Linked DNA regions of Homo sapiens: regions 1, 2, 3, 4 and 5 are each linked to region 6. The links are contacts of gene promoters, found by promoter capture Hi-C in blood cells and fetal thymus (Javierre and others, 2016). All regions are on one chromosome and are shown on one strand. The core of a region is centred on a gene start or on the middle of the fragment in contact, and the rest is flanking DNA. Distances in the headings are between cores, read along the strand shown. Region 1 overlaps SPTBN1 (spectrin beta, non-erythrocytic 1). Region 2 overlaps SPTBN1 (spectrin beta, non-erythrocytic 1). Region 3 overlaps EML6 (EMAP like 6). Region 4 overlaps RTN4 (reticulon 4). Region 5 holds the start of LOC105374653 (a long non-coding RNA gene). Region 6 holds the start of ACYP2 (acylphosphatase 2).

Evidence for each region. Contacts are between HindIII fragments. The CHiCAGO score rates a contact against its expected background, and 5 or more counts as called.
Region 1: a contact is called between a fragment that was not itself captured here and the fragment with the promoter of ACYP2 in region 6, in 2 of 17 cell types (naive B cells and total B cells). The highest score is 7.8, in naive B cells.
Region 2: a contact is called between a fragment that was not itself captured here and the fragment with the promoter of ACYP2 in region 6, in 6 of 17 cell types (megakaryocytes, endothelial precursors, total B cells and 3 more). The highest score is 7.3, in megakaryocytes.
Region 3: a fragment that was not itself captured here is called in contact with the fragment with the promoter of ACYP2 in region 6 in 3 of 17 cell types (endothelial precursors, fetal thymus and activated CD4 T cells); the score reaches 6.8 in endothelial precursors.
Region 4: a fragment that was not itself captured here is called in contact with the fragment with the promoter of ACYP2 in region 6 in 1 of 17 cell types (fetal thymus); the score reaches 5.2 in fetal thymus.
Region 5: a fragment that was not itself captured here is called in contact with the fragment with the promoter of ACYP2 in region 6 in 1 of 17 cell types (endothelial precursors); the score reaches 7.9 in endothelial precursors.

Annotation. Positions count from the first base shown.
Region 1 is chr2:54,634,859-54,639,202 of GRCh38, reverse strand. SPTBN1 (spectrin beta, non-erythrocytic 1) reads right to left here. Exons shown (of 36, transcript NM_003128.3): 18 at 1,400-1,490. Among named protein-coding and RNA genes, the nearest start is that of SPTBN1-AS2, 43 kb to the left of the region's middle. RefSeq lists enhancers at 3,947-4,006, 4,247-4,344. The HindIII fragment of the contact is 5,814 bases long and covers 188-4,344 here.
Region 2 is chr2:54,655,550-54,660,075 of GRCh38, reverse strand. It overlaps SPTBN1 (spectrin beta, non-erythrocytic 1), which reads right to left. Exons shown (of 36, transcript NM_003128.3): 29 at 4,078-4,162; 30 at 2,030-2,226; 31 at 810-922; 32 at 77-140. Among named protein-coding and RNA genes, the nearest start is that of SPTBN1-AS2, 22 kb to the left of the region's middle. The HindIII fragment of the contact is 2,191 bases long and covers 1,722-3,912 here.
Region 3 is chr2:54,727,328-54,731,835 of GRCh38, reverse strand. All of the region lies in intron 2 of EML6 (EMAP like 6), which reads right to left. Among named protein-coding and RNA genes, the nearest start is that of EML6, 5.9 kb to the right of the region's middle. The HindIII fragment of the contact is 846 bases long and covers 2,185-3,030 here.
Region 4 is chr2:55,008,453-55,012,935 of GRCh38, reverse strand. All of the region lies in intron 3 of RTN4 (reticulon 4), which reads left to right. Among named protein-coding and RNA genes, the nearest start is that of RTN4, 40 kb to the left of the region's middle. RefSeq lists a silencer at 1,798-1,857. The HindIII fragment of the contact is 634 bases long and covers 2,285-2,918 here.
Region 5 is chr2:54,673,752-54,678,299 of GRCh38, reverse strand. All of the region lies in intron 1 of SPTBN1-AS2 (SPTBN1 antisense RNA 2), which reads left to right. LOC105374653 (a long non-coding RNA gene) reads right to left here and starts at 3,918. Exons shown (of 3, transcript XR_940104.2): 1 at 3,665-3,918. RefSeq lists an enhancer at 4,494-4,548. The HindIII fragment of the contact is 786 bases long and covers 1,403-2,188 here.
Region 6 is chr2:54,112,869-54,117,272 of GRCh38, reverse strand. It overlaps ACYP2 (acylphosphatase 2), which reads right to left and starts at 1,658. Exons shown (of 4, transcript NM_138448.4): 1 at 1,517-1,658. The coding sequence starts at 1,574. RefSeq lists silencers at 1,210-1,269, 1,760-1,829. The HindIII fragment of the contact is 9,756 bases long and covers 1-4,404 here.

The DNA.
Region 1 (4,344 bases), core at 1,845-4,344, 520 kb before region 6:
ACTCTCTTCTATGCCCTGTCTTGGCACATGAATGCCTCTGTAAGTGAGTATCCTACTCAAATGGGTTACTAATGCTTGCGTGTCACTTAGAAGAGGCACTCCTGTCTTCAGCCTGTCTGGCTCCGGGCAAATCCCCCAGAGACCTAGATTCATCAATGTGGTGCTTAAAGTTGACAGACCCTAAGCTTCATAGTTTAGGGGCTTTCCTTCTTAAGGTTTTGCTGCAAGAGCATATTACAAGATTTACAGTAAGACAGCAGTTTAACGGATGCAAAGGATTGCTTCTGTCATACGTGATCTAACGCAGCTGTCACTGGAGCCGTATTTCTTTTAATGCACAGTCACACATTTGCATGCAGGGTGTCTGTGATGATTGAAGTTGTATTCCCAGCGTATGACCTGATTCTACCCCCATACTCTTAGCCCCATCAAGGTTCCTGCAGCTTTTTGTGGATATTCCTCACCCCATTTTTGCCTGAGGATTTTTATTTTAATAAACCAGAGAGGGCTGAGTCTGTTATTCTCCGGCAGACAGAGAAATATGGTGTGCTCACGAACTCACACGTGAAATCAGCTAGATACTATTCTCCAACTAGCGTGCAGAGAAACTACTTTTTTCTGGCCAACTTTAGTTTTCAAAGTTTGTGCATGTATCAGAAGAGCATGAAATAGTACAATGATCATCAGATTAATGCCACATTAAAACTTGGTGCTTGGAATCAGCATTACTGCTCTTTGCATGTTAGATACACATGGGAACAGCCTGAAAGATGGATAGATGAAGGTCTTAAGCGAATAAGAAACTAATTTGTCTTTTGAAAATCTCTGCTTCTTACTTGGTAGCCAGTTTCAGTTCCCTTTAGTTCTTTCCTTCCATATCATTGAAATGTACATTGCTTTAAAGAGTGAAAGCATGACACTAAATACTTCTAGGTTGCACAATATTCTAGGACATCAATATCCAATACAACTTCCTTTGACGACAGAAATGTTCTATATCTGTGTTGTCCAACATGGTAGCCACTAGTCAAAGTTGGCTACTGAGCACTTAAAATACAGCTAGTGATGGAAGAACCACGCTCTTAGTTTTATGTAATTATAGTTAATTTAAAATGAAATAGCCAACCAACCATAAAGACATTGTGGCTGGTGTCTACTGTAATGAACAGTGCAGTACTATACTATTAATATAATAGTCTAGATTATAATGATCTAATTAAGCTGTACCTTGTAGGCTGGAGAACTGATGAAGTGCCACGTATCCCTGCCTGCGAGTCAAATGGGTGCTATGGATTTCTGGTTTCATTAATTTTATAATTCAAAAGGCTCTTGTGCTAAATGCTGGCTGGCAATTGCTATTACTGGAACACAGGAATAGAGGGATTAAAGAGTAACATACCTCTTGACAATCTTGCAGGAATTTCTGTAGATCCCTGTTGTCCTTCAACCTCATCAAAAGTTCACTGGCTGTCTCACGATTCTTCCTATGTCTATTAGAATGGTAACAAAAATAATTTTTAAAAAAGGAAGTAGAGAATCTTGAAATACAGAATACAAATCAATTTATTTCCTGAATTCCTAACTATGCTAAAAAGAGTTTGCTTGCAGTTCTCAATAATGTGAAGGAGACAAGATAAAGAGATTTTAGCATCCTCCAAAGGAGTAAGCCATGGTCCCAGAGAGACCCAAAAATCTGCCCAAACCACACAACAGGCCGAACATACTGTCAAATGATCTATACAAATTTGTTGCTTCCTAATCTGGTGTTAAGAAAAAAATATGAGCACACGCTTTGTACAAGTCCTTATTTTAGGCACCGGGGGAGAAGTGGAAACTTATTTTCAAGAAGCTCATAACTGGGTGACACATACAAGGCTAAGAAAATATATATAATCATGTAACTGGCTTTAAACAAATGTTTCCTGATAAAGAGTTTCTCATCTTGAAAAAAACTCACCAAAAATACAACAAAAAGGAATGAAAATTTTTAGACCTGTAAGACTATATACTAACTCAATCCCACTTTTAATCAATTGATAAGGGTAACTAAAGCTCAAAGAAGTTAAAACACAAAACCTTAAATAAATAACTTGTAAGAACTGGAAAGAGCTGCTGAATTTGGTAAACGCTAAGGTAAAGGGGGTGCTCGCTCCCTACTTGGCTCCTTCCCCATCTGCTGTGAAGGTGCCAGCACTCTTTGGCAAACTTCCTTCATGCACCCAGTGGCTTAGAGACTGGAAACTGAGAAATAGCAGCGTGAATGCCTAGCAAAGGATTGCCTTCCAGTGGCTCCACTACAATAGCGGAGAGCTTCATTTCCAATAGGGGAGGACCCACTGAGGATTCAAAAGCACTGCCACACATACACTTCCTTGATACTCCTGAGTTGCCTAAACAAGAAAGCCAGTCTATATTCAGGGTATTAAGATGGATAAAGGCAGAGTGCAACTGAGGAGAGCTGGGTTTTCATTCGATTCTTAGAGCAATTTCTCTCTGCCTGTGCCTGCACAAGGTCTCTCCTCTATCCACCAAACCCTGAGGCAGGGATGAGGAAGAACACATAGCCTTGGATTCTCCAACACGCTGAGTAAGAGCAGCTTGGTGAACACGTGCTGCTGACCGGTGTCTGAAGAAACTTCCCCAGGAGAAAGAAAGATCTTAGAGTAGAGATGCATGCACCACACGGGCCCTCAGTGGCTGCTGACAATGCAGTGTCATAGCCATTGTCTGCCTGGAGAATCAAAGGGAAAAGCCCTCTGCCCCTATAGCTCCTGCAGGTACCAGTGGCTACAGAACAGTAGAAATTATACATATTTACATGTTATAACATCATATATAATTTATATTATGTAAATTACAGTATTACATACAATTATTGTAAATAAAAATATCATTAGGCATATGTTAGACACAAATAATGCCTTTTTAATTTTTTTAAGTTGAAAGGAGTTCCATAGCATCAGGAAAAGGGATCTTAATATGCTTATACCACATAGGCAAAATGCAAACGTAGAAAAATAATTATACTATAATGCTAAATGAAAATAGTTTATACATATTAAATGATATAAAACTCCAAGGCATGGGTTAGAAAGCAAACACTTAAATGGCATATGCTACAGATGGGATTAAGGGCAGTAGTTTTCCCCTTGAAAATGTCAGACATTTACTGCTTTTACAACAACAAAAAATAATAAAGGCCAGAGACATTTTATGCCATTGCCATCTATCATCAGAAACCAAAATTAAATTTAAAAAAATAAAAGATTGTTAGTGAATTTGGGCTAAAAAGAATTAGTCATCTAAGAATGTGGATGGGTTAGGAATGTCAAAAGGAAATTCCCTTCCCTCAAATTCCAGTTCTATTTCTAGGGGAGTTCAAGAACGCAAATCTTTAGAAAGGAGATAATATGAGTTGGAGTTTAGTGACAAATGCAGGAGTCCTGCCAGTAGTCAAAGGGATAAAGGATTCCATTCCCTTTGGCATGGCATCTCATTGAAGTCCTACAGTGGCAGGGAAGAATCCCAGATACTGGAAATTAACAACAGGACACACATCCTCGCCTCTCACGGAAATAACAGAAATGAAAGTAACTTCAAACACTGGAAAGATTCATTAAGGGAGAAATATGACCATACAGAATCCTGAATGTATTTCTTATATAATCAACTCTCATGCATGCCCGGCAGTTACCGGCCCAGGCAGCCTTTCTCCTATAGTGGGACCATCAAGATGGGAAGAAAGAGGCAAGGATTTAGAGTCACATGTCCAAATGACACCGATCTATGCGCAGGTGTGACAACGGCCTTCGTGTGGTGTGAAACACAGCCACACAGGCATCTGGGACTGCCGCTGACTCAGAAGACGCTTAAAAGAAGTGAGTGTGGCTTAATGGTTTACTAGTGCAACGGACATCATTCGTGGGAAGTGAAACTCAGGAAATTCTCTCCATGTTGGATCACGGATTCAATTACAGGGAAGGGCCTGAGAAGGACCTTTTAAAACTAGGGAGTAGTTTCCACAGTCTTAAAGAGTGCTTTTCCATCTCTCACTTTCTCTCCCTGTAATAAGACTCAAAAAAGCTCCCTCATCACATGAAGCAGATGCGGGTGTTCTGGTTTCTGTGAATAGTCAAGAACCCCAGGTGCCTGAGTGAAACAGCTGGGTAACTTCTGAGCCTGTTTTCCGGTGTGAGACAGGGTCTTGCTTTATGAAGCTGGATACTGTTCCTTGCTCCCCATGAACTGTGCTGTGGCTGGAATTTCCCTCTTGGTCAGGAGCTCCCTCCCTCCCTGTTCACATCCCCTGGGGCAGGCTGAGGACAGTCTCTTCCCACTCACAGG
Region 2 (4,526 bases), core at 1,568-4,067, 540 kb before region 6:
ACCATGGCTGGTCACTGGCTGTCCGTCTGCTATTAAAGTTTTTGTAGTTTTGGTAGGTTTGAGAGCGGTAACTAACCCGTGGAGATCCCTGTTCAGCTGGCAAACCGTTTTGGGAAACTTGTTCTCCTTTTGAAGTATCCCTGTTAGGGAAGAGGGGAAAAGGAGGAAGGGAAAGGAAGAAGAGGAGAAAGAGGAAACAGTAAGAAAGGGTGGGAGAACATCATCACTCAATTTTATTACGTGCAACCTTTTCACATAATTTAATTCTTTTTAAATCTGAAACTTCCAAGTGTTTTAAATAGACTCTAGACAGAAAAATACGACTACAGGAATGCCCTATGCCCCGCTCCACCACATAAAGGCAGCATTAGAGGTTGCCATGGAACTCTTACCATAGCAAAATAATTAGCCCTTTGGAAGTAGAGAATAATTGCTGCCCTCTGTGTGAAGTTACTTAGAACTCTCAAAAAACGCATCACCACAAAATCACTGGCCTAAAATCTGGGCAGTTCACTCCATGCATTTAATCATATGGAAGTTCTGAGCATCCTGTGTGTGTGCACACAGGATGAGAAAGGGCACTGTCTACATTCTACTTCTGCCACCTACATACCTATGTGACTGTGGACAAATCAGTGCCCTCCAAGGTTATTTAGGGATAACTGTACAGCCTTTAAACAGTCTATGGAAGCAATCAGTAGGCAGGGCATGTGGTTAGGCCTAGCAATGCAAGGCTTCAGAAAGATGCCCCATAAACCTCATTGGCCACCGAGGCTAAGGGTCCAGCCTCTGGAGCTGCTGGGACTCACCACTGCTGCTGGGACTCGGCTTCCTCTGAAACCTTCGTGCTCGGCTCGGGAGAAGGCGGCCGCCTCTTCCTCTCCTCTTCCTCTTGCTGTCTGCGCACTTCCAGTAACTCCAACTAAGAGAAAATAGAGTGATGTTTGGTAGAGTCCCAAACTCTGCCTCTTTTCAGAAAAAGGTTCTAGGAACCCAGGAAGTCCTCCTGTCTAGTTTGCTAAACTGGACCACACTGGACAAGAAGCTCTAACATCCTGAGCCAAATGGAATTAGGTTCACAGGAACTGCAGCTACAACCTAAAACTACAGGAAATAGTCTATTCCATGGGCTGGCAAAATTCCTGTGAGTTGTTTGTAGGACCCCTGGGAGCTTGGGTTTAATTTCTAAAGTAACTATGCAACTCTCAACTCTGCTGAGGAGAAAAGTACCTGAGCCTGAGGGTTCATGCTGGACTCCCCAGGAGAGCTCAGACAAACACCAGGGACAGAGCTGCAATAATTCTCAAGGAAGCCGCTTGTGCTGTGGTGGGGATCTGTGTTCAGCCAAAACCCAAACAACACATTAAAAAGCCACAGAATAGTCTAACTGAAACAAAGCCATTTCATGAGTCATATGGATGTACCAGAAGTACTCTGTTTTAACACAAATGTATGCAGGTACATTTTAAACACCCAGAACTGGAAACCAGAAACACCATTTTTGTACACTGCAAAGGATCAGCTTTCTACCAGGAATGCAAAAGTCTTGGGAGAGGAAACACCAGTGCACAAATCCTATTCTAAGGCCTTTATGTTGACAGAAGAGGGGATCAGGACTGGGGACTTAACAACAGGCTAGGATTAAGCTTCCATTTGATGGGAATTCTAATTCTGAAATTCTGAAGAAAATTTTGAGGCCATGCCCCCTTGAGAACAAAGCTTTTATGAGATAGGGGAGAATGAAAGATTCGAAGAAAAAAGCAAACACCACCAATCAACCCCCAGGCAGGAAGCTACTATAAGGGATCATAAATCCAGGTGCCCAGGATGTGACTGAGGAGGTAACAGTCCTGACCCTCTCCCTAGGTCCTGCTCCACAGGAGCCACCCATTTTAAGATGATCTTCACTACTTGAAAAAAACCCAAAAAACAAAAACAAGCAATCGTGTGAATTCCCTGGTCTAAGAGGCAAGCAGGAAGAAAAGGCTGCCCAGGGCACCAACAGACAAAGGGCCCAGCGGCCACTTACTGTAGTCAGCCTTTCCAGGGCAGAGAACCTCTCATCCCAGGTTGCTGCAGACTTTTCAAATGCCTCGTGGCGCTTGATGAGCTTCTCCACCTCGTCCACGCTCTGGCCTATCTCTCGGCTGGATAGGTACGGCTCCTGTCCAAGCAGCCAGGCCTCGGCCACACTGGCGTCTCTTGAGAACTGATGGACCTCCAGAACTGCACAGGGTACCATGAGTTAGTACACGTTGACCAGGAGGTGCCGGGCAGTCATATGGCCTTACCTCTTGGCACTGCTGCCCTCTGGTGATGGCTACCTGCATAACCAGTCTATCGTCTACTCTAAATTAGCCCTGTCCAATGTAAATGTAATGTGAGCCACACTTGCAACTTTGACTTTTCCAGTAGCCACATTAAAAAGAGTAAAAATAAATAGGTGAAATTAACTTTAATAGTGTATTTCACATAATATGTATAAAATTATTACAACATGTAATCAATATGAAAAAAACTATTGAGATCTGTTACAATCTTTTTTCTTCTAAATCTAAATCTGATGTGCATTTTACGGCACACATTCACTGCCCATCTCAATTTGAGACATTTCAAGTTCTCAAGAGCCACACGTGGGAAAGCAGCTATCATACTGCTCAGCGCAGGTCTACAGTGAACGCTCTGTTCACTCGGCCCCACTTCATGAGCTAAGCCTTCAGAGACCTGCAGGAATTCACAATCTACACGTAGCCAGATGGGCAGGCATTCTTAACTCGCCCTCTTTTGGGCGGTAGTTGTGTGTTTTATTTTGGGGGGTTTAGAGGGAGGGAAGGATATGGGAACACTACAGATGGTGGGGACCAAGGCTTTTGCTCTGTTTCATTCTGTTCTTCCACCTGTGAGGAAATGGAACACTAGTTCCAACATAGTTATGAGAAGGTAGGTTAGAACCAGGCTTTCTGCTATAGTTAACACTGATTTTCACTTCATTTCATGCAGCAAAGCCTGGGATCATTGAGGTAAAAAATGGACTGTGGGCAGCGTTGGTGTCCCAAGGAGCTGGCTAGCTATCTGCTTTCAGCACCTCGGTAGCCCCCAACATGACTACATGAAGAAGATGCCACCTCTGCACTAGGGACTTACTGGCTTTTCAAGGCAGGGACTGTGCATATCACTGTGTCCCTGGTGTACAAGCTGGTGCCCGGTTCAGTGTGTAATGTGGGTTTTGCTGAGCTGAATGAAACTGCCCCACAATTCTCAAAACATACAGACCAAATCCTCCTGCAAAGAATGGTCAAAAAGTGGGATTTCTGAGGGCTCTGGGCCCAACAGAGTGTGCCGTCAAACCTCTCAGAAAAGGCCCTTGCATTTGGTTTCTAGTAAACCCCCATAACATGCATAGATGGAGTTAGAACATAAGGACAGAGCCCAGAACTCCAACAGAGAATGGCAAAGCATGGTAAGCAATGCTAGAATTGCGCTGTTAGTGCTCATACCAATTATGAAATGCTATTCCTAATACTGTACATTATAAACCCTGTATTAGCTCACATATTCCCTTATAAAATGAGAATTAAAAATAGAATCTAATTCACAGGGTCACTTTGGGGAATAAACACAGAAATACATTAAAAAACCACTTAGAACAATGCCTCATTCACAGCAAAATTTTAATAGATGTTAGTTTTTATTATGTTATCAACATTCCACTAAGAGCACCAAATATGACTTAATGAGATCAACTTTCCAACTTGATTCTGTAGTAAGAATTCTTGAAGACAAATGGGGGAGAGGGCTTCTATCTGTATTCTCCCAGGGAGGTGCCCTCTGTCATCCCTAAAGAACATCCAAATCCCACCTATGACACTGAGATCAATCAAGAGGTGAAAAATGACTACGCCATAGGAAGCTTCTTAAAAGTAGTATTTACCATGAAATGGTGAAACGGGGCACTAAAAAGGCATCTACAACTCGAACAATCTTTAAATGATAACATTAATGAATTAAAGCAAGAAAATAAACGTGCATGTTTTCCATTGATACCCAAAAGAGCAGAAAGATAAACTACATCCTTACTCAGTCTTAACCATTCCCATCGGTCTTCCCACTTGTCGATCATTTCTTTCCTCTTTTCCGTCAACTGCAGTAATTTTTCCTTGATCTGTATGAAAAAGAGGATCCCCGGGACATCTTAATGGAATGCACCACATCCTCTTGATGGGGTCATTTTATACTAGAAAAATACATTTTCTGCAAAGACCACCATTAAGCTGGGAGATATCTAAGGACTGCTCAGTCTGTCTGAGGACTGGGAGAGGAAAGAAAAGCATAGCACTGCTCCTTCCAGAAGGGGCTGGAGGAAGGCGCGGAAGCCCTGCCAAAGCTGTTTTGTCGTGAGGAGGCTCCCTGCGGCAAACACGTTCAGGAGAGGGACAGCAAGACGGACAAAGCCCTGACCTCTTGGAGAGGATGCCCATTCCCATGCAGGGGGCCACACACGCACCTAATAATTTACCTCTTTATTA
Region 3 (4,508 bases), core at 1,358-3,857, 610 kb before region 6:
AGAGGCTGCAGGATAGTGTTGCCTAATTAGGGCTGCTGCCATGTGAACAGTTTTTCACCTATCACAGTGTCATCCAAATGACTGATTGATGGGGTTGGTGGGACTGATACAATTCTTTATAAGATAGTATAGTTCAGCGCAATGTTTTCAAGCAGTGACCCATTATGTGGCAACCACATTTTCCAAAACAAAACACAGTCATATATATATATATTTTTTTTGACAGGGTCTTGCCCTGTCACCCAGGCTGGAGTGCAATGGTGTGATCACAGCACATTGCAGTCTTGACCTTCCAGGCTCCCAAGTAGCTGAGACCATAGGCACACGCCACCATGCCTGGCTAAATTTTTTAATTTTTTGTAGCAATGGGGTCTCCCTATGCTGCCCAGGCTGGTCCTTAACTCCCAGGCTCAAACGATCCTCCCACCTCAGCCTCCCAAAGTGCTGGGATGACAGGAGTGAGCCTGGACTCATATTTCTGAATTAAAAATTAGATTCATGATGTCACAAGAACAAGTATCCACAACAATAACTGAATGGAATATTTGTGACTGTCCTGGGAAATCTAGGGCATATGGTACCAAAACCCATGAGGCATTAATGACCTGGATGAGAATTACAATGACCTTGGTCTTTCTCTGGCTATCTGTACCAGAATTTTAGGCACATTAAGTTTCTTCCCACCCTGGCACTTTTGCACATAACCTCTTCTCTGCCACTACATCTTCACCTGTCTTCCCCTTCACACCCTTCAGGTTTCTGCTTAAATGCCATCTCCCTAGAGAGCTGCTCTGGAAATCTTGCCTAAGGTGGCTTCCATACCCCCATTCAACCCAGTTTCTCTGTGATTATTTTTCTTCTTAGCACTTATCACAATCTATAGTCATCTTATTTTCTTGTCCATTCACTGTTGGCGTCCCCCATCAGAAAGTAAGCTTCGAGGCGGCAGAAACTTTGTCATGTTCACTGCTATACCCCCTGCATCTGGCACATTATAGATGTAAAATGAGTTTTTGATGAATTAACAAATATGAAAGAATAAATTACACCCAACTTAGAGAATAAACAAATCTTAATAAAAATCACAAGACTATAATTTATTAATAAGAAGAGCAATAATGCAATCATTTATGAAGATCATTATAAGCTTCCGTCAAAAGCTTTCACTTTGCGCTCTTTCCAATGCACAGAGTAAGTGGGATCCAATGAGCAGTAGGATGGTACCATTGAGTAACTCTGATTAAATCTCTTCCCCTCGCAGAGCCATTTCTCAGTGTAAAATGAGAAGACCTATTTCTCAGTGTTGAGGGTGGGAGAATTCAATAGGATGACATATACATGAAGTGTCTGGTACAGAGCAAGCACTCAACTTAATATGGATTTGATTCTTTGTAGTTACCTCCATATTTCTCTTATTCAAACTGGTCAAGGGACTAAAGAATATAAAGTCACATCTCTAGGCCTTCATGTGAACTTGCTTACCTGACACTCCAGGCCCAATCATGGCTGTTAGACCTGTCTCTTCAAATCCAACAAGTTCAATTGTATTTGCAGCACTAGATTATTTGAGCCATGTCACAATTTTGACTAAAATAATTTTTTTTAATTAAAATCTCTAATAGATCATTGTTTCAGGTCATTGTTCCAAAGCTGTGGATATTTCTCTTTTTTAAATTTTTTCTTTTCTTTTTTTTTTCTTGAGACAGGGCCTCACTCTTGTCGCCCAGGCTGGAGTGCAACAGCACAAACTGGGCTTACTGCAACCTCTGCCTCCTGGGCCAAAGAGATTCTCTGGCCCTAGGTCCCGGAATATCAGGGACCACAGGCACCTGCCACCATGCCCAGCCAGCCCTTGTATTTTCTGTAGAGATGGGGTTTTGCCATGCCACCCAGGCTAGTCCTGAACCCCCAAGCTCAAGTGATCTGCCCACCTCAGCCTCCCAAATTGCTGGGATTAGCCTGGCCGAGCTGGGGATGTTTCTAAAGCAAACTTAAACATGGTCCCATTTCCAGGCAGAATTCTAATGATCTACTTCAAATATTCTTGAATAAATCAAACGGTTTATAGACCAACAGAGGATAAGCAAGTTACAAAGAGCAACAATCTACTACCTTCTGGTTAGGAAGAAGGCACAGTTGTAGGGACCACAATATAAGAGGCCATAAAGCAGTGAAGCCAAAGCTTGCAGCTTTGGAATCAGACCAATCTGGGTTCCAATTCCCATTCCACAGTCTGCCAGACAGTGACAACAGGCAAGATCCTCAACCTCTCTGTGCCTCAGCTGCCTCCCCTGTAGCCTGGGGTTAGCAACAGTGCCTATCTCACTGGACTGTGAGAGGGTGGATCAGATCAATCGATATACACATTTAGTTCTGAGTTTGGCACTCAGGAAATGTTAGCTCTGGTTATAAAATTCACTCTCAGCCTCAAGAGTCTTATATACGCTTACAAATGAAAACAGAATGAAACGATAGCCCTAAATGATACATATTAAGTGAGCAGCATCGGTCACAAAACACACAAAGTTTTGGAAGTGCAAGGTGCCCCTTCATCTGAGGATGGTACAAGGTCTCATGGGAGAGGTGAGACTGCAGCAGATAGGGCTTTGCAGGATGCAGATGCAAACAGGACCCTGGTGCTGCACACTTACCACTGGCCAAACATTTTTGTATGTAATCCCCACAACAAACTACAAAGGAGATACTTTAAAACTCCATTTTATAAGTGAAAAGTTGTTTCACTGATGAGATAGTTAAGATTCGAAGAGGTTTATTAAAGTCGCCAGCTGGTGGCAGTCCTAGGTTCAAACTCAAGTATGACTGACAGCAAAGTCCAAGCTCCCACTGCTATGCCATTGGAGGGGTGCGGCTGGACAGACAGAGAAGGGCCAGCGGGGAAGATGAATCATTCCACTGTGAGGCAGGGAAGAACAGAGTCATCATATGGCAAGTGGGAAGCAAAGAATTTATGATTTTTTAAAAAAGGAAAATAAGGATAGGATGGTAGGTTAGGAGAGAGAACAGAAAGCTTAGGAATCTGGACTTCTGCCTGTGAGCAATGATGAATCATTGTTTTGTTCTGGGGGTGTGTGTGTGTTTAGTGAAATACTACTTCTACCACAACTAAGAATATTTATTGAGCACCAACTAAGGGCCAGGCCCCACACTAAACCCTTTGCATACATTTTTTTCTAATAGTTACAACTCTGCAGTTTAGGTATTGTCATTCCCATTTCACAAATAAACAAGGCCCTGAAAAGTGATGCCACTCACCCAGATACCCCCGGTAAATGGCAGAGTGGGATTTATACCCAAGTGTGCATGATAACGAAGTCAGTGCCCTTTCCCCTAAAGCAGCATTGTACATAAACCTCCTTTGCAAATGGGAGCCGGAAAACGAGGCAGAAGAACCTGGAGACAGGGAACTAGCCAGAAGCAATACATATAGTGGTCCAGAGTGAGGAGATAAATGTCTCAACTGGAATCACTGTGAAAATGGAAGGGAAGTAACAGAGGATGAATGTGTTCACAGGCTTTTCTTTCATTTACTCCCATTCTCTGTGTCATGTTCTACTACCTAAAGTAGAAACCAAGTTAGTAATTATCCCAGTCTCTATTACTGTCCTTGGTATCAAGCCCTGATTTGCATCTTGTTGTTAGCCCAATAGCAAATATTACTTTAAGTATTCACTTGTTCTATCACAATGTTATCAGGTCTAAAATATGGCATCATCTTCTAATCTGTTATCTGAATTAAAAAGTAATATTCAAGAGAATAAAACTAAGCCTCCACATTCAGTAAATTATATTATGCCTCACATAGCAACATCTTTAAAAATCTGACTTAGACATATAGCCTGTCAAAGCAGAAGGACACATATGCTGAGCCCTAATGAGCTCTGCCAAAACCTACATTATTATTAGGGTTCATTATGATCTTGGAGATCACATGGTTTTATAAAATGGAGTGTGTTATCAATACTTGTTGGGCTGCTTTCTAGTTAATATTCTTGGCAAAACAGCACAAAAAATAAAGCAGTATAGATGTATGCATATGAATATATCTTTCAAACTAATGCAAAAGCTATGTACCAAGTGGACAATTACTTATGCTATCTCACCTGATGGAAACAAGAATTAGAAACGAACAAGTTTTGATATTCATGTAATGATTCAATAAAAAACCAAAACACTTTTGCATTAGAACCTTAGCTATAGTCCTCTCCATTTAATAACAAACTTCAATATTTCAGGTGGAAGAATAGTAGTAACCGGGATACACAGAAACGAATTAAAATTCATAAGGACAAAAAATTGTGCATTGTGGTTTGTGCAGTGTCTTCACCAGAAAAAGATATTTACATATGTAAGACAAAGCAAAAGAACAGCATAAACATTCCAATTTCATAGCTCTTAATTCCATAATAATCTGTGGTTTGTGTTTCTTAATTCATTGAACTTAATTTTATTCTTGTGTACAAAGACATATTTGGATGTTAAGGAACTCT
Region 4 (4,483 bases), core at 1,352-3,851, 890 kb before region 6:
CAGATTTATGTCCTTTCTTTATTTGACTTGTTAAGTTGGGGTTCATTGTGGAATAGGACCTATAAACTATGCAGATGTACATTTTTCTCAGCTGGAAAATAATAGAACTATACAGCAACGACAATAGTTTGTGTATGAGAGGGGGCAATTCTGTTTAGAAAGATTGGGTTATTGCCTAGAGTTGAAGGACTTAATATATGAGCTTTCTTAGATGTGCCTTACTTGTCTTGTTGCTTCTTAGTTTGATTGTTATTTTTAGCATACTGATAAGTAAATAGCACTTACATAGTGCCTACTTTTTGTCAGGCAATGTCCTAAAGCCTTCTATTTTTAGTAGAGATTATATGATTTTCATAATAAACATAGCCCATCTGGCTTTACATCTTTAACAAATTTGTGTCATATCAGTTTTTCAGATTTAAGCACTTTTTTGCTTAACTTGCCAAACTTAAAACAAGTCTAGTTGAAAAACTTTGTGAGAAAGAACTGGGCAAAATGTCAGTTGATTTCCACAAGCTAGTTTTCCTTGTACACTTACAAAGACCATAAAAATTAAAGAAGTAGATGTCACTATGTAGGCTGAAATGTTTACTAAACTTCAGGGCTCCTATTTTGACTTTTTAATCTGTCAGGGGTGCTATTAAGTATGTTTAATGTTTAGATGAGTGGGTATGTCTTATTACACATTCTTGCCCCTCTCAGACTTTTTTCTTTAATTGTTAAGCCAAATCAAGTACCACGGAAGATACAAGTAGTCTTAAGTGCCGAGTAACTTGATCACAGTAAAACTTTTTTCTTCTACTAGTGAAGTAATCTCTGACTTGAAAATAGTGTTTGAGTACTATAGTTGAGTGTTTTATTCTAATGCTCGTTATTTATTGGCTTTCAGTTTTAAGGGACTTGTTATTAGAAAGTCAGTATTTTGTATTTACTAAATAGTTTGAGATTCTGAATGTTGCGTGGAGAGGCCAGACATTTTCAGGCCATGATATGGCTTGCTGACCGGGTTCTCAAATATCACATTATGCAGGGGTTCAGTGAATAAAGTTTAAAGTTAAATATTAACTCGAGCTGAGAATACTGGGCTCTTTTAAAAATTACTTTTCTTTATTTATGTTTGGAGTTAGAGAGGCAGATAGGGAAATAAATGTGTCATTGATATTCAAGCCACTTCCTTTTTCCCCTCTCATTTTCCTAATTTTAGTTCTTTCTATGTTTAAGTCTTACATGTTTTGTTTTTAGTTTTTTTGGGTACATAATAGGAGTATATATTAATATCAAGCCACTTCTGATATTAAGGATTTTGCAGCCCACAGATAGCAGGTTCCAGAAAATATTATCTCTATTTCATTTTAGCTATACAGTCTTAAGTATGTATTTTTGTACATAGGCTACGTATCTTATAGTATTTTCGCAAATTGCATTTTAAAATATTTTAGCTGATTTGTTAGTGCCTTTTCTGCTTAGGCAGATATAAGTATCAGGTGAATTGATTGTGGAACATAAGTAGAGACACTGCATTGGAATGAAAATCAGTTTTATAAAGTTGAACACAGATTTTAAAAATGCTGTACATAGATTTGTTTTTATATTTTTCAGTAAAATTTTAGGCCAGGTGTGGTGGCTCATACCTGTAATCCCCGCACTTTAGGAGGCTGAGGTGGGAGAATTGCTTGAGCCCAGGAGTTTGTGACCAGCTTGGACAACACAGGGAGACCTCATCTCTAAAAAAAGTGTAAAAATAAAAAATTAACTGGGCATGGTGGCACATGCCTGTGGTGACTGAGATGGGAGGATCTCTTGAGCCTGGGAGGTTGAGGTTGCCATGTGACCAATGATTGCACCACTGCACTCCAGCCTTGGTGACAGAGCGAGACCCTGTGTCAGAAAAAAATAAAAAATAAAATAAAATTATAGTTTGCTTTTATGTCATTTTCCCATGGCAGATTATATCATTAGCCCATGAATATATCTCCCCAAGCTAAGAATCTATTAATACTGTCTGTAGAGGTGTCTAATAAATATTCAAAGATTGAGTTGGAGCAGATGATGATTAAGAGTAAGTGTATGTTTGTAAGTCTCTGGATTTCCATAATTGTAAAAGAGGAAAAAAGATATTAGGAAGATTAAGTTGCTAAAGTTTTCTGTTCAAATAATATGTTCAATAAACATTAGTAATTTGACTTTTATTTTCTGTTTATCTCTTCATAAGGTGCAAAATGCTGAATGTTTTACGTCTTAATGAACTTAGGAGCAATTAAGGAGACTCATCATTTCACAAGCTTGAAATTTAGGCTATTAATATTTGATCAGTCCATTTTTATCTTATTAGGTAACCATTAATTTTAGAGTTTTAAATGAAACTGAAAACCAGTAGCATAATTCGACCATCTGTTAAAAAAAGAAAGAAAAAAAAACTGCATATGGCTTTAATTGCATTTCAGATACATTCAGTGGTTAGTTCTAAGAACAACCCTTATTTCCTTTCTTTTGGTAGCCTGCCCTCTCCCTGCAAATGCAGCTCCATTTGGTATGAGCAACAAGGCAAATGCCTAAAACAATCAACAGATAGAAGGAAAGCATTAATGCTGGAGTATTAGTAGCCTAGTTACAGATTGCACTGCGTCAGACTGTTCCACACCCAGAAGACGTCAGGTGACTTCAGTCCTGCTGCAGTTGTGCAGCAGAGGAGACTGCAGACTTCGGTTGAGGAAACGGGTATTTCATGTCTCAGGGAGTAGGTTTGTGCAGTTACAGCTTTTCTGTTGGTATGCATAATTAATAATTGGAGCTGCAAAGCAGATCGTGACAAGAGATGGACGGTCAGAAGAAAAATTGGAAGGACAAGGGTATATCTGCTTTTTAATTTCTTATTCAGTTTTTATATGTGACCACTAATATATTTCTATGAATAAGCTTTGGAATTTAGATATTTTGGATTGAAAGTGAAACCTCTGAAGAGTTGAAGTCTAAAGGATTAAAACGGCTATCTCACGTGTTTTTACATTTGGTTGTATACCAGAAAATGTCATGCTGTTCTGTTTCACTGGCATTCGGTTTAGTCTTTTCAGTCCTGCCGTTTAGGTTCTGTTCTCTAATCTTGCACATTGTAAACAATATAGATCTAACAGATTTCATTTGTTCGTCACTTGGATGTGGTAAATACACATTGCTGTTTTTGTGTTTCACAGTGACATATTTTCCGTGACTATTTTAAAAAACCTTACTTGGTGTAGTTGAAATTCTGTGCAAAGGTTTGTAGGTAGCAAGATATTGTGTTTGCAGTAAGCCTCTTCTTTGAAAATCTGATTTGAACCTTTAAAATTATTACCAACTTTCTTTTAATCAGATTATGTGCATCTTGAAATCATTCAAATTACACAGTATAATTACGCAGTAATTTTAAATGCATGTCTATATTTAAGTCACTAACCTTTGTCCTTGTAATAACCAATCAGTGATTTTGATCCCTTTTCCTCCCCCTTGAAAGCCCAGATCCTTTCAAATCTCAGTGGATCATTGTGTAAGAATTTAAGCCTGTAAATGGTAAAATGTTGACTAGAATATTTAAAGAATATTTTATTATGTAGATGGTTAAATCTACCTTTTTTTCTTTAAAAGAAAGTGGTAGGCTGTATATCTGACCACTTATAATAAATTACCTTTAAATTATTAGAGCTATTTTTAAGTAGTCCAAAATAGACATTCTACGTAAGCAATTTTTTTCCTGGCTACATTCAAGTTTTATAATTAAAAAAAATTATTTCCTTCTAGCAGGATTGGCAACAATATTTCTAAAAGTATGTAGAGCTAATTACAGTAACTTTTACAATGTCTTTTTAAAAATTTGTTCAATAAAGATGTGGGGAAAAGGTGAATTTAAGATTGAGACCATATTGAGACATTGGTAAGATTTTATGGTTGCAACTTAAAAAATAATAGAAAACAATACAGCTTTGGGTTTTGCCTTTAGGATTTCTTTACATGTGAATTTAAAGAGAAGGATTTTTATTTCTTCATCCTGTTAGCCGTTGACGTTACAGATTGATGAATTGATATATGGTAGCTTTTGCTAAGTGAAAATGATACAAATGATAATAATACAATAAATACAGGCCTTAAAAGTAGGTGAAAAGTCGTATCAGGGCTCATTCTGCAACTATTAAGGTTCTTTATTAATAACTTAAGTCTTAAATCATTAAATAACATCTTAAGTTCTTTATTTGTTGAAGTAATTTAAAGGTATTATGAGACAGGAGAAATTAAGTTCCAATGTAGTTCATATTTTTTCCAGAGATTTGTTTGATTATTTTTAGGTACTCAAATGTAAAATTGAATTTACTCCTGAATATCTCTGGGGAGCCTCACTTTGTAAGTGGAATGGCCTAATATTTTTTAGTACCTGTCTGGCTGTTTTGGTCGGTAAGATTAACTTTGCCTGTTTTTCTGAGTCAGTGGTTAAATTATATTTTAGTATTTTCTC
Region 5 (4,548 bases), core at 546-3,045, 560 kb before region 6:
TTGAACTGCTGACCTCAAGTGGTCTGTCCGCCTTGGCCTCCCAAACTGTTGGGATTACAGGTGTGAGCTACCACACCTGGCCCAAGAATGCTTTTATCATACTGTCTTTCCTGTTCAAAATATTGCATCTCTTACCAACATGTTTCACTAAAAAAACATGAGGTCACCAAATGCCTATTTAAGGAACTGAATTTTTATTTTTAAAAATAAAGTCCCCCAAGTGATGCTACTCATCTGTTTCTTTGGGGAATCCCAGATGCCTGAGTTAATGGTCAGAACATCATTTGGCTGGGAAACAATCCATATAGGTGCAACTGTCCCTGGGTGCGTGGCCCCGTGATTGGGTGCAGCTCCCTCTCAGTCAGTTCTCACTGTCTTATCAAGACTCCATCTCTGAAATCTTGAAATGCATCTTGAAATGCAAGGATCCTTAATCCATTTATTCCTTTGACAAACAGAAAATGAGCCCTTCTGTCTGTTCACGCTTCCCCTCTTTCCTCTTCTGAGAAATGGAGGTCTAATTGCTGGCATGGGAAAGAGCCTTGTTTTAACCGTCAGCTCCGCCCTAGTGGATGGAAGACAGGGTTAGCATGCCCTGTTTTTCATACAGCACCTGGGCTTGTAAAATGGAACTAAAGAAGGAAATGATGACCAGGCATCCAGAAGTCAGCTCCTGTCTTTCTATGCTCTGCTAGAAAAGAGAGGTTGTGAGCTGAGGGACATCAGGAGAGCAGGAAGACCTGCAGGAAGAGCCGGCTGGGCACCCAAACATGGCTGTACCTCAGAAGATGCCTGTGCAGTTCAGAACTTGGAGGAGATGGGGCCGCAGGTGCTGAGGAGGCAGCAAGAGTCAGATGCAGTGACACAGGGGAGGTCAGACATCACAGGAAAGAGCAATGATGGAAGTCAGGGAACGAAGGGGCCCTGTGGCCAGTTCAGGGGGCTAGAGTGAAAATCTGACCTATCTCAGCTGCAGCCCATCAGTTCCTGTAGCTTGTCTTCACATCCTTTGGCTAGAAAGCAGATGAAAGAAAACCTGTCCACAGAGGCTGTGGGCTGAGCCTCTCCTCCCCACTTTTTAAACACCAGACACCGACATAGGCTTTATGCTGAGCTGTGATTTATCTTGCCAACCTTCTGAGGCTACAGAGTACCCAGCTGTTTGGAGGGTCCTTCTGCCCTACCTTTCCTCCTTCCTTACTTCTTTCCTTCCATCTTTTCTTCCTTCCAAATATTTATTGTGTCCCCACCACACACTCTTTATCTGAACTTAAATTTGATCCGAAAAGGACTTCAGCATGTATTGACAGTTGAAATCCAGGCAGCTACAGATTTGTAAGGCCAGTGAATCAGGCATCAGCTATCCTCTAATTACATTGCACATGTATTTGAGAGCAAAGCTTGCACTTGCATAGCTAAACTCTAGAGTCACATGGATGCTCAAGGAGTCAGTGAAGAGCTGTGGCTTCAAGAACCCAGCCTTGCATGGCTGTTGAGTGGACATGACACTGGGTATCCAGTCCTTTCTCTGAAAGCCCACGACTGGGGCAACAGCTTACACACATGAGATGCCCTCTCAGCTGGCACTGGTTCCATGACCATCATTCCTCAGCCCACAGAGAAGTGCAGGAAAAGAATCTAGGTGGGGGACAGTTAGTGTAGTCTGAGAGTGTGGCCTCTGGAGAGATGTGTCAGAATTCAAATATCCAGCTGCGATTTGTACAAGTACTTAACTCTTTAAGCCTCTGTTTTCTTCTTTGTACAATGAAGACATTGCCTGGTAGAATTGCTGCAAGGATTTGATGAGAACGCAACTTGAAAACTTAGCACACTGCCTGGACAACCTTATAGTTGGTTACCTATTAATATTAGCAAGATGAAATCATTCCATTTGGAGGAAAACAAATGGTGGAAACAAAACCAGTGGTTCAGAGTCCCATACCTAAATCACTGACTGATTTTTTTCAATCAGTTGTCCTGACAGGTTCAGATCCAGCGTGAGCTCCTGGCTTCTCTCCCTTTTCCTATGCAGTGTGTTCACACTCACACATCCACTTGTTACACAGCGCAGGATGCCACTGAGATCCTGAACACACACCTCCTTCTCAGCTCAAGATATCAAGGCAGCTGAATGGAGATGAGGCAGGGGGAAGGTCAGTCCTGGGGTCAGCCAGACCGTGTTAAAGCTTCAGAGCACTGTGGTCTTGGTTCTACCAGCTCTGGCTTAGCTCAGTCTTCTTTTCTCTGGGCTGACAGTTCAGGTTGTGGGTCTAACAACACCTCACTAATAAGTCTCTACCTCACAGGGTCATTGTGAAGGTTGGAACGAGTTAACATGGGGAAAGTGCTAAGGGCAGCACCTGACTGACGCATACAGTAGGCGCCTGGCCAAATGCTGGCTGTGTCAGAGCCAGAGCAGAAATGGTATTCCTCTTCGTTCTGCGCCAAGTGCTACAAGGACAGCCGCCACTAGTACTGGTGCCCGATGATCTGAGACACGAGGGGGCCATCAGGTTATGTTCCAGCTACAGCGCTGCTCCCCCTCCTTCCCCGCTTCCTGAGGCAACTGTGATAGAGAAATGATGGAAATCGTGTGTCACAGGTGAAAAGAGAACATAAGGATGGGTTCATCTTCGCAAACTTTTCTCCTATGGAATTGAAATTTTTTCCCCACCTGAGGAAAGCCAGACATTCTGCCTTCTCACCTTTTCCAAACACCAGTGGCACCCTCTTCCTTTAAACCCTCATGCCCGAGTAAATGGCTTCCCCGGGACCCGGGCTCAGTGTCCCCAGCCCAGTCACCCTCCTATCTACAGCGAAGCTCTCAGGCACATGGGACACCCTTGGCTTTTGGGTCATCAGTTCTCTGGGTAATTTTACCCCCTGTCAGAGCTGGAGACTTTGTAAATAATAGGGTGCTGAGCGATGAGGGAGCTGCAACCCCGCCACGGGGCCAGGCAGCAGGGACAGTGTGCACCACACAGATTGTTTCCCAGCCAAATGATGTTCTGACTCCTCAAAGAAACAGAAGTAGCGCCTTTTGGAGGGCCTTATTTCAAAAGAAAATACTTTCTTAGGCTGACTTTTGGTTAATTTGTAAATTTACTGCATTCCCATATCAGCTCCTGTTGCTGATGAGCTGTGCCAGTGTCTGAAGTAACCCCCCAATGCCTGGTGGAGAAGGGAGCTCGGGAGGTGGTAGCAAGGGGAACTAGACCCCTAGAGGTCCTTCCTGCTTGTTAACCTACATTTGCTCTCTGAAGCCAGGTATGCCCCAACTGAAGCACCTCGGAGGGAAAACACGGAGGTGGTGTTGCGGGGGTGGGGTGGGGGGTTATCAACACCTGCAGTCAGGGGCAGCCTTGAACACAGGAGCAAATATGCTTTAAAATAAAAGAGGCTCCTGCCTGACAGACTACCATGGGAGAAAAGGAACCGATTTATGGAGTGTGGCGTTCATCAGTTCATTTAATCTCCTCTAGAGGCCAAGGCTCAGATGAAGCAGACGAAGAGGAGTCTCACATTTGTAAGCGCCACAAGGGCTGCTTCCCAGCATGGCTGGTGCGTGGTGGGTGCTTTGCAGAGGGGATAAGGGAGTCTTTTTTTACTTGTCACGGGGCTGGGAGGTGAAGGAGCCACCATTCAATCTGGCTTCAGAGCCTACCTTCTTTCCTCAGAAGAGCAGAGGCTGAGCAAGCTGGATGAAGTAATCCAATCATGTGTCCCCAGGAAAGACAAGAGTCCTCAAATCCAAGTGGGGAGATGACAGACCCGTGTAACAGATGGCAGCTAGGAGAAGGCCCCGTATGCACGCCTGCGAGCACTGGCTCAGAAACGCACGCTCCTTACAGCCATTATTATTATTATTTTTGAGATGGAGTCTCACTCTGTCGCCCAGGCTGGAGTGCAGTGGTGTGATCTCGGCTCACTGCAACCTCCGCCTCCCAAGATCAAGCAATTCTCCTGCCTCAGCCTCCGGAGAAGCTGGGAGTACAGGTGCCCGCCACCACGCCCAGCTAATTTTGTTGTATTTTTAGTAGAGATGGGGTTTCGCCATATTGGCCAGGCTGGTCTCAGACTGCTGACCTTGTGATCCGCCCGCATCGGCCTCCCAAAGTGTTGGGATTACAGGCGTGAGCCACCAAGCCCGGCCACGGCCATTTTAATTAGGGCTGTGGACATTCCCCTAAGATGGAAGATTAAAACCTTGAGCGACTGTTTCCTCCGAAAAAAAACAAAACTTGAGGAACAGGAACACTGGAAATAATTCACTGTGACGGAGAAACGTAAATGATGACCGAAGATGGAGCAGATTCCCCGGGAGAAATGTTGTGAGCCAAGACTTGGCCTCAGCTCCACTGGAGAAAGCTCCCAGGTTCCCGCCCAGCGCCCAGACTCCAGAACACAGGATGCCCCACCCTGTGGAGAAAGTCGCTGCGGGCTTATGTAAGGGAAATTCCCCTTCCCTTTAAAGAACCAGTTTCAGGAAACACCACTAACGTCCTGCCTCCCTGATTTCCACTCCCGGACACAATGGGTCTCCACCGT
Region 6 (4,404 bases), core at 409-2,908:
AAATTTACCTTTAAATTTTAATAATGTTTATCATACTTTTTATATTTTCATCTAGTGTTCTAATAATAATTTCAATAATAACTCCATCCAGACAAAAAATTTAATACTTGGAGCTGTTGAATACAATGAGTTCTAAATTTCTCTTCAAAGAATCAGTATGTCAGTATGCTCGGTTCTTTGCGCTCTAAAGTCTAGCTTCCTCGTTCTCCTCGCCTCTAGTTTCAGTAAACAACCTTTTCCACCAGTTCTAATCAGTAGTTCACCTCTATTCCTCTGGTCACCTGCTCCATCCTGAGTCACCCCTGGTCACCTGCTCTGACCTGAATCATCCTGAGTCACCTGTTCTGTAACCACCCTTCCTGCCAAATTATTCACCCCGCCACTTGAGCTCGTACGCCTGCTCTTTAAAATAGCCAGTCGGAATTAGCTTAGACTGTGCGGTCCAACCCTAGCCAGTAGGGGAAAGACACAGCAGTAGAGGCTACCTGCATCAGGAATAAGAACCCCTTCCCCTCCCCTGTTCAGGTGTGCCGTTGCCATTGCTTCATCCGCGAGTCGCACCCTTCTATAGAGGTAAAATTGCCTTGCTGAGAAAATTCTTTGAGCGCTAGTTCTTCTTTTTGGCACCAAAGAACCAGCATTTGTTTCTAAGAGAGCCTTATTGTCAAAGGAAATTAAGAAAAAGCATTACACTTATTCATACATGTGCATATATGTACATATACATATTGCAGAAAAGTATGATAGGGTGAGCAAAAAAAAAAAAAAAACCCTCAAGCAAAACAATGGGGTAATTCGGTGGGAAAAGTGAAATGAAAATCAAATTCAAAGAGGAAAAGAAATGAGTAAAATTTCCCATTGTTGAAGAGTTTTATTTTAAATGAAGATGGTGGATGTTAAATCACTACCCTATTTATATTCCATTGCATAAATCTCAGAGTGACTTAATATTTTCATTTATAAATATCAATATTTTCAACAAGCCAGACATTACAAACTTGGCAACTACTTAAACTTAGGATGAAACAAAAATTAGATAACAATTTCATTCTTTTAAGAGCTACAAAGAGGTCTAAAAAAAGGTTTGACCTCTGAAAAATTAACCTTAAACCATCTAAGTGTCCTTCCTAAAACTCAAGTCAAGCCCAGGTAGCTTCAGTGGCAAGCAACGAGACCACTAGTTAAAAGACCCTCTTCTTTTCCTACCCAACTTCAACATTCCCCCGTGCCGCTTACTCCCGCACCCAGCAGCCGCCCACTTCTGGTCCTCAGCAGTCCCCTGACCCCTCCTCTCCCGCTCCCCCACTTCCCTCCCCATTCCCGTACTTCCGCCCGTCCAAGTCCTCGGGCGCATGCGCGTTTCGCCTCCCTCCCCGCCGCCGCTGCTGTGTCATGGCGGAGCGGAAGTCCCAGCCACAACGGGAAAAGGCATACTTTAGGTGGGAGGCGCTTCTCACAGCTTTCTCCCCTTCCTCCCATAACCTTTTTGATCTCCCACCGTAGAGGGGCCTCCTACCCTGCACTCTTCCGAACACCTCGTAGTCCACGGATTTGAGTGACTGGGCGGTAGACATGGCGGCGGCGAGCCCTCTGTTGAGGAGCCGGAGAGGGGCTCGGGGCGCAGCGACTGCGGCGGCTGCGAGAGGGAGGGGACACATGGGACTGCTTGGCGCACCCCGCGCCTGTCACCGGTCCCGGACGCTAGCGCGCCGGGGTCACGCGTCGGAAGCGGCAAATGAGACTGCGGGGCCTGGGAGCGAGGGCAGCCGGGGACGCCAGGAGGGAAGAGGCCGCTGGGCCCCAGGCATCCTAGGCCTCTCTTCCCGGACTGGGGAGGATGCTGTCTCCACAGCGCTCCCTACCATTTAATTGATCAAGGTACTCTGTTCTCAAAGTTAGTAAATAAAAGCCGGATGCTGTGCCCAAAAAAAGAGTGGCTTCCCCCAGCTTTATTAAAGTGTAATTGACAAATAAAAGTTGGGTATATTTGTGGTGTACAAGGTGATGTTTTGACATATGTATGCATTGTGAAATGATTACATCAATGAAATTAACGTATCCATTGCACCATTTTTTAATGAAGAGAACATTTAAGATCTACTCTCATCAATTTTTAAGGACACAATACATTTATCGCAGTCACCATGTTAGACAACAGATCTTCAGAACTTATTATTCACACTAACTGAAACTTTGTACCCTTTGACCAATATCTCCCCATTTCCAACCCCTTTCATCCCCCATCCCAGGTCCCCCACCCCACTCCATCCCAGCAAGATTGGCTTTTGAAATCAAGGGCCTGCGTGTTTAGTGTTTTGAGAGTTAGTAAATTATTTATGAAATGTTTAGGTGACTACCAAGCCAGCTTTTAAGATAAGGTCTGCAACATCTTGAGCTCTTCTGTACAGTCAGGAAGGAATTGAGCCTGAACTCGTATTCTAAACGGATTGTGATATTTTCTGGGATAAGAAACTTTTTAAAAATATGAAGTCTTTTATGCTAGTGGAAACAGACAAAAGAAAAACACTGTAGTCATCTTGTCTGCTGTTCATACAGTTTTTTTGGTGTGGGTTTGTTGCTGTTGTTTTGAGACGGAGTTTCGCTCTTGTCTCCCAGACTGGAGTGCAGTAGTGCAATCTCAGCTCACAGCAGCCTCCACCTCCCAGGTTCAAGAAATTGTCCTGCCTCAGCCTTCCAAGTAGCTGGGATTACAGGCATGCGCCACCTCACCCAGCTAATTTTTGTATTTTTAGTGGAGACGGGGTTTCACCATGTTGTCCAGGCTAGTCTCAAACTCCTGACCTCAGGTGATCCACCTGCCTCGGCCTCCCAAAGTGCTGGGATTACAGGTGTGAGCCACCACACCCGACCTTTTTTTTTTTTTTTTTTTTTGATTGTCTTGATTATTCTCAGCAACATCCCAATTGCCTAGAAGGTTAAGGCTGAATTTTATTTCCTGGTGAGCTATTACCAAGTTTTAATATAAAACCATCCACCACTCCAAAGGATCTGGATACAGCTATTGATAATCTGCCACCTTCTAGAATTCCAAATCTGTTTACTTGTGAGAATTTGCATTTCTCTATTTGTTGGCCTCAATACCTTGGCATATTTCTCTGCATCTGGCCACACAGTTAAAATAATCCACTGCAATCTGATTCAATATACTGTGCCAATTCTATTAGAGAACACCAAAAATCATCCAAAACTTGGTTAGAATATGGTTAAATCATTTTTAAAGTAAAATATATTCTGGAAATGCTAGTGCAGTTAATTTATGTAGTGAAGGTCTTAGTTTATTGCAGAGACCTCGTAACTTAACTCTTCCATCTCCCAGTTCATTCCATGCAGACTCTAGAATCAACATAAATTTTAAATCATTCTTCTTAATACGTTCAAAATAGAACCTAAGGTCTTCAGCCTCCACTACCTGCTTATGCAAATCCTGCATTTAAACTATAGTCAAGACACTCTCGGTTATTCTGCTCTCTCAGTACAGAGGTTTAAAACAAAGAACCTCTTCTCTTGGGTCTACTCTATCTGGAATGCCTCCCCCTTCTCCAAAATCTTCCTCTATCCCGCTCAGTCATCTCTGCGAGTGGTTACCAGATTTTATCCTAGTTATTTAGTGTGCCTTCCCCACTAGTACAGTCAGCCATCCATATTAGCAGGTTCTGCATCCATAGATTCAACCAACCTCAAACAGAATTTTTTTTTTTAAGTATCTTGGCCTGCACGGTGGCTCACACCTGTAATCCCAACATGTTGGGAGGCCAAGGCTGGCGAACAGCTTGAGCCCAGGAGTTAGAGATGACCAGCCTGGACAATACAGTGAAGCCCCGCCTCTATAAAAAATACAAAAATTACCTGGCTGTGGTGGCCTGTGCCTGTAGTCCCAGCTACTTGGGAGGCTGAGGTGGGAGTAGGATCACTTTTGCCCAGGAGGCAGAGGTTGCAGTGAACCGAGATGGGGCCACTGCACTCCAGCCTGGGTGACAGAGCGAGACCCTGTCTCCAAAAAAAAAAAAAAAAGTCATCTCTACTGAACTCATGCAGACTCTTGTTTCTTGTCATCATTCCCTGAACAATACAGTATAATAGCATTTACATCGCATTAGGTATTTTAAATAATCTAGAGATGACTTAAAACATACAGGACAATATGTGTATGTATGTTTCTATTAGGAACTTGAACATTCCAGGATTTTTATATCCAAGGGGATTCCTGGAACCAATCCCCTGCAGATAACAACGGACAACTATAGCATAGCTTCTAAGTAGTCACTGACTGGGAAGGTTGACATTTTCCTTTTCTTAATCTTTGACTTTTCTCCACATTTACCCAAGAGTACCCCTGCCAATTATTAGGTAGGTTTATTTGAATTTTAGAAGTGCTATAGCAAC